Linked DNA regions of Homo sapiens: region 1 is linked to region 2. Evidence: promoter capture Hi-C in 16 types of primary human blood cells and fetal thymus (Javierre and others, 2016). All regions are on one chromosome and are shown on one strand. Each heading gives the region's core, a stretch centred on a gene start or on the middle of the fragment in contact. The rest is flanking DNA. Distances are from core to core; before and after follow the strand shown.

Region 1 (4,764 bases), core at 1,114-3,613, 430 kb after region 2:
TCCTTCTTTTAGTTCATATAGTTCCTCTTTCTTTTAAAACTCAAATCTTTAATCCATTTGAAATTTATTTTGGTGTTGTGTTAGGTATAAGGCAAGGATCTAGGGGTTTTTTCCTCCAAATAATTGACCAGTTGTTTCAATAGCACTTACTGAATAAACTTTCCTTTCCTTGGTCTGTGATAACAATAACAATAGTATAAGAAAAAACTGGCAACTCTATCTCATCCCAGGGAGTCTTCAGAAATAAATGAAAAAAGATGATCAAGCCTGGAGTTTGTTCTGGGTGGCTGCCACTAAATGGGTGACTTTCATTATCCAGGTATATCCTTCAGAGGAACTGGAAATAAGCTTCAAAGTTGTTCAGGGCTGGAGACGCTGGAGTAGGAATAAGATGTCTTGTGATTCTAGGGAATATTTTGTTTTTCTGTATATATGTAAACTGTATGGAACATGAAATGTCCCATTCTGGTTGAGAGATAAGACTGTGCTTAATGTAGCAGGTTAGTTCATTACCGGAACCAGCATCCCTACAGCCCTCCCTGGAGCTTCCAGTAAAATAACTTAGACCAGAGGCTCCAGGTCCACTCCTGTCCAGGGGATCCAGCTATTCTGTGAGACTTGAGTGGCAACAGGTATCACTCACAACTGGGGTACCACTCCAGAGAGAATGACTCAGACAATAACCCTGTCCATACAAAGACCAGTCATTGGTGGGTAGAGACTCAGAGACTTGAAGAAGGAATCCCTTAGGGAGCTGGCTTGAGAGCAGCAGGCTGGGTCAGCCCAGTATACAGTGGGGGCAGGACAGGAGTGGTGGATCCTGTTCTTGTGAAGAACTTCAGTTTGGAGTTCTTTCCACTGGAGACTCCAGGAAAACTTGAGTTACCCTGTTCTTTCACTTTTCCTCTCCCCTATAATAAGTTCGCTCTGAGATTATCCCATCCCTGAAGCCTAGTGATCTAGCCTTAGAGAATCAAGAGGGCAAGATTGCAAGGGATGGAGGCTTCCCTGTGCTCTCTTCTCTCTGGTTCCAATGAGGAGGGGACCTTGTCCTATGGAGTGGACTGTGATTTGCAGGTGTATGAATGACAGTGTCCACAGGAGAGCCAAGTATGACGAAGAAGGACTCAGGATGTCAAGAAGTGCTTCAGGGCAGACAGACTAAAAAATTCAAAGCTCTCAGCCTTAAGAGTAAGGGAGATTCCTCTCTGAAAAAAGAGAGGCTAGGCTAGACATATGAAAACAATAGTTATAACCATTGATCTAAAACTGCAGTGGGTCAGATATGTGCTAATCACTCTATGTAAATGATCAATTTTTTCATTATGGTAATATTTGTGTAAATGAAATTGACTATTTTAACAATTTTTCAGTGTACAGTTCAGTGGCATTGCATCCATTCACAGTGCCCTGCAACAATCACCATTATTTCCAGCGTATCCATCATCGCAAACAGAAACTCTGTACCCATTAAATAATGCTCCCCACTTCCCTACATCCCTGGCAACCTCTACTATACTTCCTGTCCCTATGACTTTAGTACCCAACCTAAGTGGAATCATACAATATTTGTAATATATTGGACTGGCTTATTTCACTTAACATGTTGTCAAGGCCCATTCATGTTGTAAACATTCATCAGAACTTCGTTCCTTTTTATGGCTGAATAATATTCCATTGTATGGACAGGCCACAGTTTGTTTACCCATTCATCTGTTGATGGAGATTTGGGTTGTTTCCACCTTTTGGCTATTGGGAATAGTGCTGCTATGAACATTGATATACAAGTGTGTGTTTGCATTCCTGCTGTGAATTCTTTTGGAAAAGCTGGACTATATAATAATTCTATGTTTAGCTTTTTTGAGGAACCTGGACAAAATTAAATTTAATTTCTCATGAGAACACTGTGAGAGAAGAAACATTACTATCCTTTCTCCTTCACCTTTTACACCCAAACCATCTCTAGGCCTGGGAGATACAAGCTCTAAAAGATACCTGAAATCCGGCCAGGTGCGGTGGCTCACACCAGTTATCCCAGCACTTTGGAAGGCCAAGGTGAGTGGATCATCTGAGTCAGGAGTTCAAGACCAGTCTGACCAACATGGTGAAACCCAGTCTCTACTAAAAATACAAAAAATTAGCCAGACGTGGTGGCAGGCACCTGTAATCCCAGCCACTGGGAGGCTGAGGCTGGAGAATCACTTGAACTAGGAGGAAGAAATTGCAAAAAAAAAAAAAAGATACCTGAAATCCATGTATTTCTTTCCACCTCCACTGTCATCCACCTAGCCTATGCTGTCCTCATTTCTTTTTCCAAGACTACTGCAACAGCCTCTTACCTGTCCCCTCCCTCCCACTTCCACACCTGTCCTCTCATCCATTGATCCTTTGACCTCACAGCAGTTAGTGTTCTCCAAAAGACACAAAGCAAATTGGATCTCATGGCTTCTCTCCCAGTTAAATCCTCCAGTGGCCTCCCAATACACTCAAACTCGCATTCAAATCCTTCTTATGGCCCAGGGGGTTGTGCCTGTCTTGGGTCTGTCTCACCTTTCCAGTCTCTGTGTCAACTTTCCCCTTGCTCTCTACTTTCTAGACAAGATTTCCTATAAGTGGGTTCCAGATATGCCTATGACTGAGACCCACAACTCCTGGGCCGGGTGTCTCCAGCCACAAACAGCTTCTGCATTTATTCCAGTGATCTATACAAATAGTGTCATTTTCTAGGTGTGCCATGATGTGAAAGAGGGGAGAAAAGCATTCTCACCGCTTTAGCCTTCTCTGAAGGAATTTCTTGAATTCCACCAATGTCTTTTCCTCCTTGGAGCTTTGGTATGTGCTGTTCTTTGTCTTCTAGAACACTCCTTTACTTACTTTCACCTCAACCGTATCTTCATTATATTTCCATCCTTGGCAGCAACCACATGTCCCCTAGCTAACTTGTAAACACCTTCAGTTCTCAGCTTTAAAAAGTGGTACAGTGTAAGGATTGAGAGCATGAACTATGAAGCTAGACTATGCGGGTTTGCGTCTTATCTTCCCTATTCTTAGCTACTCTCCCCTTGCTCTCTAGAGTCAAGTGTGCCTTTGGGTTAGTTAAGTGACTGGAGTCTTGCTCTGTCACCCAGCCTGGAGTGAAGTGGCGTGATCTCAGCTCACTGCAAGCTCAGCCTTCTGGGTTCAAACGATTCTCCTGCCTCAGCCTCCTCAATAGCTGGGACTACAGTTGCGTGGCACCACACCCGGCTAATTTTTGTATTTTTAGTAGAGATGGGGTTTCACTATGTTGGCCAGGCTGGTCTTGAACTCCTGACCTCAGGTGATCCACCTGCCTCGGCCTAAGTGCTGGGATTACAGGCGTGAGCCACCACACCCGGCCTAAGATGTCCTCTCTTAGCAGTATGCCTTTGGGCCAGTTACTTAACTTCACTGTGCCTGCAGATAGAGCGATTACCAAAGAGAGGGAGCCGGCTTGAGCTGAGCAAACAAGCAAAACGGACTTCATCAAGCATTGCCTTCCAGGTGCTAGGCACGTGACAATATTGCGCATGTGTTGACTCATTTAATCTGTTTAACTCTATAAAGTAGATGCCAAATTATTATTATTATCATCCCCATTTTCCAGATGGGAAACTTGAAACTCAGCAAGGGACTTTCCAACTCCAAATGCTTTTCCTCTCCGGAGCGTCACTGCTCTATGCCAGTTACATACAGAGTAATATATTGGAATGCTATTTGCCTGGGGACAGTAAAGTCCCACCTCCAGCCTTGATCAGGATCCAGGTGTAGTCAACAGATCCCAGTCTGGCTAATTTAAGCAGAAAGAGATTTCACATGGGGAATTGGTGCTGGTAAAATTATTAGCAGAGCAGGAAGAGCAACATTAGGCCTCCAGACCACTCTTCCTCTACCCTTGTAGTTTTTCCAAAGATGGATAAACACTATCTTTCATCTCATATACCCTTTGGCAACTGAGCTTGCCATTCCCTCATCAAGAGGTGGAGCCTGTATCACTTTCTTAAGTGTGAGTTGGTTGAGTGGTATCATTTGGCTAACAGAATGTGGTAGAAATGACTCTGTGTCTGTTCCTGGTGTAGCCCTAACTGCGGCTTCTGGCAGCTTCTGATTCCTGCTGTTTGGAATGCTGACTGTTGGGATGTGCCTCCTCTGAGCCTGGACACCACGTCATGGGCAGCCTGAACAACACAGTGAGGTGTGTCACGGTAGGTGCGTCAGCCACCAAATTCTGGTGAATTCCCAGCCAATAGCTGGCTTCAACTGCCAGAGAGTGAGACCCCAGGACATCCAGCCCAGTTGAGCCATCAAATAACTGTAGCCCGGTGCACATCTGAATGTAACGTCATAAGAGAGCCCAAGGGAAGCTTACCTACTTGAGCCCAGTTTATGCTTAGACCATGAGAAGTAATAATAAATTTTGTTTTAAGTCACTAAGTTTGGGGATGGTTCATTACACAGCAACAGATAACTGGAATATTTCTGATTATGTATGAGTATACTACCACTGCTGCTGAAGCTGCTGAACAGGAAAACCACCTGCCAAATTAGGAAACTTCTAGGACAGCTCTTTGCCCCCAAACCACACCACCTGGGCCATGAACCACACCTACAAAATGGGCGCCTGCATCCTGCCTCTTTGCCCATAGAATCTTAGGAAAGCACAGCTGATTGCTCAACCCAAAGCATGTCCAGAATCCTAACTGCAAGGAAATCTGGGAAATGTAGCTTTTAAAAGCTCCCCAGCCT
Region 2 (5,138 bases), core at 2,413-4,912:
ATTCTTGGCAGGCACACATGCCTGACTGAGCCGAGATTGCCTGCCATACCATGGCTTCAGGGGGATCTGGGGAACAAGTGTCTGATACCTCCCAGCTTCTACCACAGGATGTGGCTCTGCCTCTCACTATGGCTTTTAATATGGGAAATCCCCAAAGATGGGAAGGAGTTCACAAATTGGCCAGCCAGAGGAAAAAAAAATGTGTATATGAACAAGTCTGTTACACTTCCTACCTGGCCAGAAGCATTTTGAATTTCCTCTCTTCTTTGGCTTTTTGTCTTACCTGCTTTGATAATCCGCAACACTGAATAAACACAAGCTTTTTTTATTGTGGGTCTCAGGGCAGTTAAAAATCACTTAGGAAGTACACACTATTGGTCATGAGTCTTTAGTCTATTCCTAGTAAATTCAATTAGTACAAAGGTTCTAAACCCATCCCTAACTCCCACATCACCCTGTAGAAATTTAATTCTGTACAGGTCTTCAGGAGATTCTGATGCAGATTTCTGATTAGGAACCATGTTTTAGTCTTTCTCATCTTTCACAGTTTCTTTACAAACGATTTCTATTTTTCTGAAGCCCCAACCCTACGCCATCAGTCTTAATCAATGACTCTTTGTTCAATTGGGAAAACCAGTCCATCTGATGCAAATTCACTTAACCTCTCTCCTGAGAGTTGAACTCAAACTTTCTTCTTGTCTTTATCCATTTCTTCCTCCTTCCCTACTTCGTTATTCCTTCTTCCCAAGGCTAACTGGCTAATGTGATGCTCATCTGAATGTCCTCTTGACTAATTAGAGACTTTGACTAATATTCACCTTCCTTTTTGACTGTATCTTTGGCCTAATTTCCCTGTTGTCTAATTTGCTTTGACCCCCAAACATCCAAGTCTTGCCTGACCTAAAAACCCTTTCCACTAGACCCTGCTTCCCATGGGCTATGTTCCTGTTCTCCACCTTCATCTTTCACATCTGAAGAGCTGAAAGAAGCAGTTTGTACTCATGGTTGCTTCTCTGATCTCTCGCTCATCCCCATTTTTGTTTGTTTTATTTTCAACATTCACTTGGTAGCAGTCATTCCTCACCTCTTGTAAGTGCTTCCAAGCTCATCTTCTGGACACAAGTCACTCATGGCTTACTGACAGCCCTCCAATGGTCTCTTCTTCATCTGCATCCCCCATGACCTTTCAGAAGCATATGACCCTGTTGAAAACCTCTTTCCTTCTTTGTGGCTTTTGGTGCAAATCCCTTTGAATTTTTCCTTCTACTTCTCGGATGATACTTTATCAGTCTTCTTTGCTGGGCTCTCTCCTCTTCTTGCTCTGTTTTCTCATCCTGGCTGTTCTCATTTCTTTAGCTGTAACCGCAAAGTAGATGACACTTGGATGTGTGTCCCCAACCCCGATTCTTCTATTCAGAGTTCAGATATTTCCAACTGATCACTTCCAAAGGGTGCCCAGGCCCTTTTCCTTCTCCATCTCCCCATTCCATCACTCCTTTTAAAAATTTATTGCGGTTAAAAATACAAAACTTAAAATTTACCATTTCAACCACTTTTAAGCATATGGTTTGATGACAGTAAGTACATTCACACTGTTGTGCTCAATCATACCTTTTAAATATCTGTATAGCTGGGAGTAGAAGGACCATTTCTGGTTCAATTGTTTATTCCTGGGGCCTGCTTCTATCTCCATATCATTGGCCAAGCCTGGTGCTTAATGGTTAAGAGCATGGGCTCTGGTGAGTGTGATCTGAGTTTAAATCCCAGCTCTATAACTGTAGCTGAGTCTTTCAACCTCTCTGGTCTCATTTTCCTCATCTTAGTATTCTCTACAATCACTCTGCTGAAGCAATAACAGCTTTGTTTATTTGTGAGCAAACCCCTTTAAATAACTTGTCCTGCTGGGGCTTGTGCTGGAAATGAAGAAAAAAGGATGCATTTGAAGAAAAGGATGGGCTTAGCCAGAAAGTAGAAGTTTCTGATATATTGGAGTGGGATGTAGAATCTGGCACTGGCTTGGATTTATTAAACAATCAGCTCCACCTACACTTGTTATGAAAAAGATGGGAAAACAATCCATCAGTAAACGATTTTGGTGAGTGCTTCCATCTTTGGTCAGAGGAGTAATTGTTCATCAGTGACAGGTGAACCTCTGTGAAAATTGAAAGGGCAATTTAGTTGAAATGGAAGCATTTATTCAGGAAACAGGTGATCTGGGAAAATTTGATGTGCATTTTTTTTTTTTTTTTTGAGACAGAGTTTCACTCTTGTTGCCCAGGCTGGAGTGCAATGATGTGATCTCGGCTCACTGCAACCTCTGCCTCCCAGGTTCCAGTGATTCTCCTGCCTCGGCTTCCCAAGTAGCTGGGATTACAGGTGCCTGCCACCACGCCCGGCTAATTTTTTGTATTTTTAGTAGAGAAGGGGTTTCACCATGTTGGCCAGGCTGGTCTCGAACTCCTGACCTTAGGTGATCCACCCGCCTTGGCCTCCCAAAGTGCTGGGATTACAGGTGTGAGCCACCGCATCTGGCCTGATGTGTATATCTTTTAACATGCCTTTAAATCCTATGGCTCTAAAGAGGCCATATTAGTTATTTCAGTGTTTATTTCATTTGATGAAGAAACGTTTGCATATGAATGTTGGGAATTCTAGCAGGTCCTGCCTCAATGTGAAGAGGCATTTTTTTTTGCTTTTGGCATTGATCTCCTTTTGGACTGGGCCTGATCCACTTCTTACATCCAGTCCAGGACCTGTCACAAAAGACTCACATTAGTACCACATGGTATCCTGTTTTAGTAAAGAATAGGTGAAATATTTTAGTGAGTAGATCCTACTTTTCCTTTCAGATGCAATGAACAGAAGACCCTGAAAGGATTTCAATCCAGAATGTCACAGGATAATAAGAGCAGATGTCTGTGATGCCCTTTACAAAGCACCTTTACATACTGTCTCTCATTCGTCTCTAATGACACCTATGTGATCCTCCATTTTTTCAGATGAGGAAACTGAGGTTCAGAGTGATTAAGCGAGTTGCCTGAGATTTCACAGCTAACACATTGTGAAATCTAGTCTAGCACCCAGGACTAAAAACTCTCGGCTTCTTTTAAGGCCACATATCGCCTCACCAGAAGGGTGGCCTCTCTGGAGATATACCCTACCCTCGGCCGACTTGATATTGAGAACTTGGTCATCTTAAGCATGTGGGCCACTTGGGCAAGGCAGCCCTTCCCAAATTGTAAATGTCCCCACGTGGAGCTCAAGCGTCTGGCTTGAGCCAGAAGGTGCCCTGAACACTCGGTGGCCCCAGCCCCCACGTAACAGCACGTGCTCGGGTCCCACATTCGGTCAGACGCCCCTCTCCACTGGCATCTGCCCGGTGGAGGCGCCACTGCGCTCTGCCTCCGCCCCAGCAAGCGCGTGTCCACGCGGGCGCGCCACGCCAGCCGTGCGCCCCAGCGGCTCGCCGTGCGCCCGCGCCCCAGGTGCCCACTGGCTCGCGCGCCCTCCGTCTGCGCCTTGGAGACCCGCGGCGGCGATCGCTCGGAGCCGCCTTGGACCGCGGCCTCGGGTCCATCACACTCCAGGGGCGGAGCGAGGCACCGAGACGTCAGGGCGGAGAACTAGCGCCGGGCTAGCGCGCCCTCCCGGCGGCTGCCGGCGTCCCACGTCCTCGGCTGGCGCGGCCGGCGGCGGCGGCGACCGGGAGATGCAGTGAGCGGCGGCGCTGGGGCGCAGCCAGGCGGCCGGGAGGGCGGGGGCCAGAGGCTGAGCCCGGGCGAGCCCGCCGTGCGCACAGCTCTGCCCGCCGCCCCTGGAGCGGATCCCCAGCCGTCCCTGGGCGTTCTCCCGGGTTCTAGCAAAGCCCCCCGGGGTGCCCATCAGTTTCCTTGGGTGACTACAGCGTGTGTTTTTTCTTTCCTCTTTCCCCTGCCTGTGTGCCCTTCTCCAGGATGGCAGAGGCGGAATTGCACAAGGAAAGGCTGCAAGCCATAGCAGTAAGTCCACTTTCATTTTATTTTCTTGCTCTATTGTCTGGGGTGGAAGGGGGCCCCCGAGGGTTTCGGGGCAAGCGGCATGCCAGCACAGTAGCCGCAGGTCATATGTTCCAGGGGCTAAAACTCTGTCAGGGCTCAGCTAGGCTGCCTTTTCTTTTCTATGTCTATAGATGGAGACCCCCAAGGGCGCGCTTTGGACTGAGGATTTGAATGTGGAAGATTGGCTTAAAAAAAGATGCTTGCTGCTGGGCTTTGGGGAAGGACTAAACAGAGGCTTGGGGTGGGGGGACGACTCCAGGAATATTATGACCGAATGCTCAGGCATACGTTGGCTTCATAGCCTGGAGAACCAAGAGAAGGGTGACCTGAACGGTGGCTGCCATCCTCTCTGCGGAAGCTGTCCTCCTGTTAAGTGGAAAACCAGGAGTCAGCGACTCAGCCAGCCACGCGGTAGAACCTCCTCCCAGAAACCGGGAATGTTAGTTTTCCCTTCTCTGTTTGATATTGACAAGGGCACTGGCACAAGCCACCACCCTGGAGGTCTGGGGACTTCATACAACTGGGTCCTGGTTATAATATTCCATGAGAGCCTCCTTCTTATGGTGTGGAGTATCTGAAAACCTATTTTCAGCCTACAAAGGAGTAGTCAGTTTTGGCAAAGTTCGTAGGCACTTTCAGAAAAGTGTACCCATGTGCATCTTGGGTTTAAAAAAGAACTCTCTGAGACTGCCTAGATTTGAGCAATCTTAACACAGTGTTGCCAATGATCCACAGATGTGGTATTTTTACTGGAGCCACCACAGCTGGATTATATATTTCCTTCGAGGATGAGGGAATGATTACTGCTGCCGTATGAAATAGTAACAATTAAAAAAGAAGGTCCGTTAACATATTGGCATAAAAGAATCTCCAGACATTCTTCCACCTAAATACATTTGTGTTTTTCAGTTCGGAAGTTCTCTGGAAACACATATAAATTTGTTGGAGAAATAGTGTGTAATGTTTTGGAACCAAAGTATATTAAAGCGTTTTCCAAAACCTTTTTGGACAGATTCTTCATTGGGAAAATGCACACAGACCCTTCCTTTTTTAGAAGCATTTGACATGGTCTCCAAGGCTCTGAGACCCTCTTTCTCAAAC

What was found. The method cuts DNA at HindIII sites, captures the fragments that hold promoters and counts their contacts. A CHiCAGO score of 5 or more calls a contact.
Region 1: a fragment that was not itself captured here is called in contact with the fragment with the promoter of PALM2AKAP2 in region 2 in 1 of 17 cell types (naive B cells); the score reaches 5.5 in naive B cells.

What each region holds. Positions count from the first base shown.
Region 1 is chr9:110,210,121-110,214,884 of GRCh38, forward strand. No RefSeq gene overlaps it. Among named protein-coding and RNA genes, the nearest start is that of C9orf152, 4.3 kb to the left of the region's middle. The HindIII fragment of the contact is 4,034 bases long and covers 347-4,380 here.
Region 2 is chr9:109,776,536-109,781,673 of GRCh38, forward strand. It overlaps PALM2AKAP2 (PALM2 and AKAP2 fusion), which reads left to right and starts at 3,663. Exons shown (of 11, transcript NM_007203.5): 1 at 3,663-3,998. The coding sequence starts at 3,954. The HindIII fragment of the contact is 7,761 bases long and covers 318-5,138 here.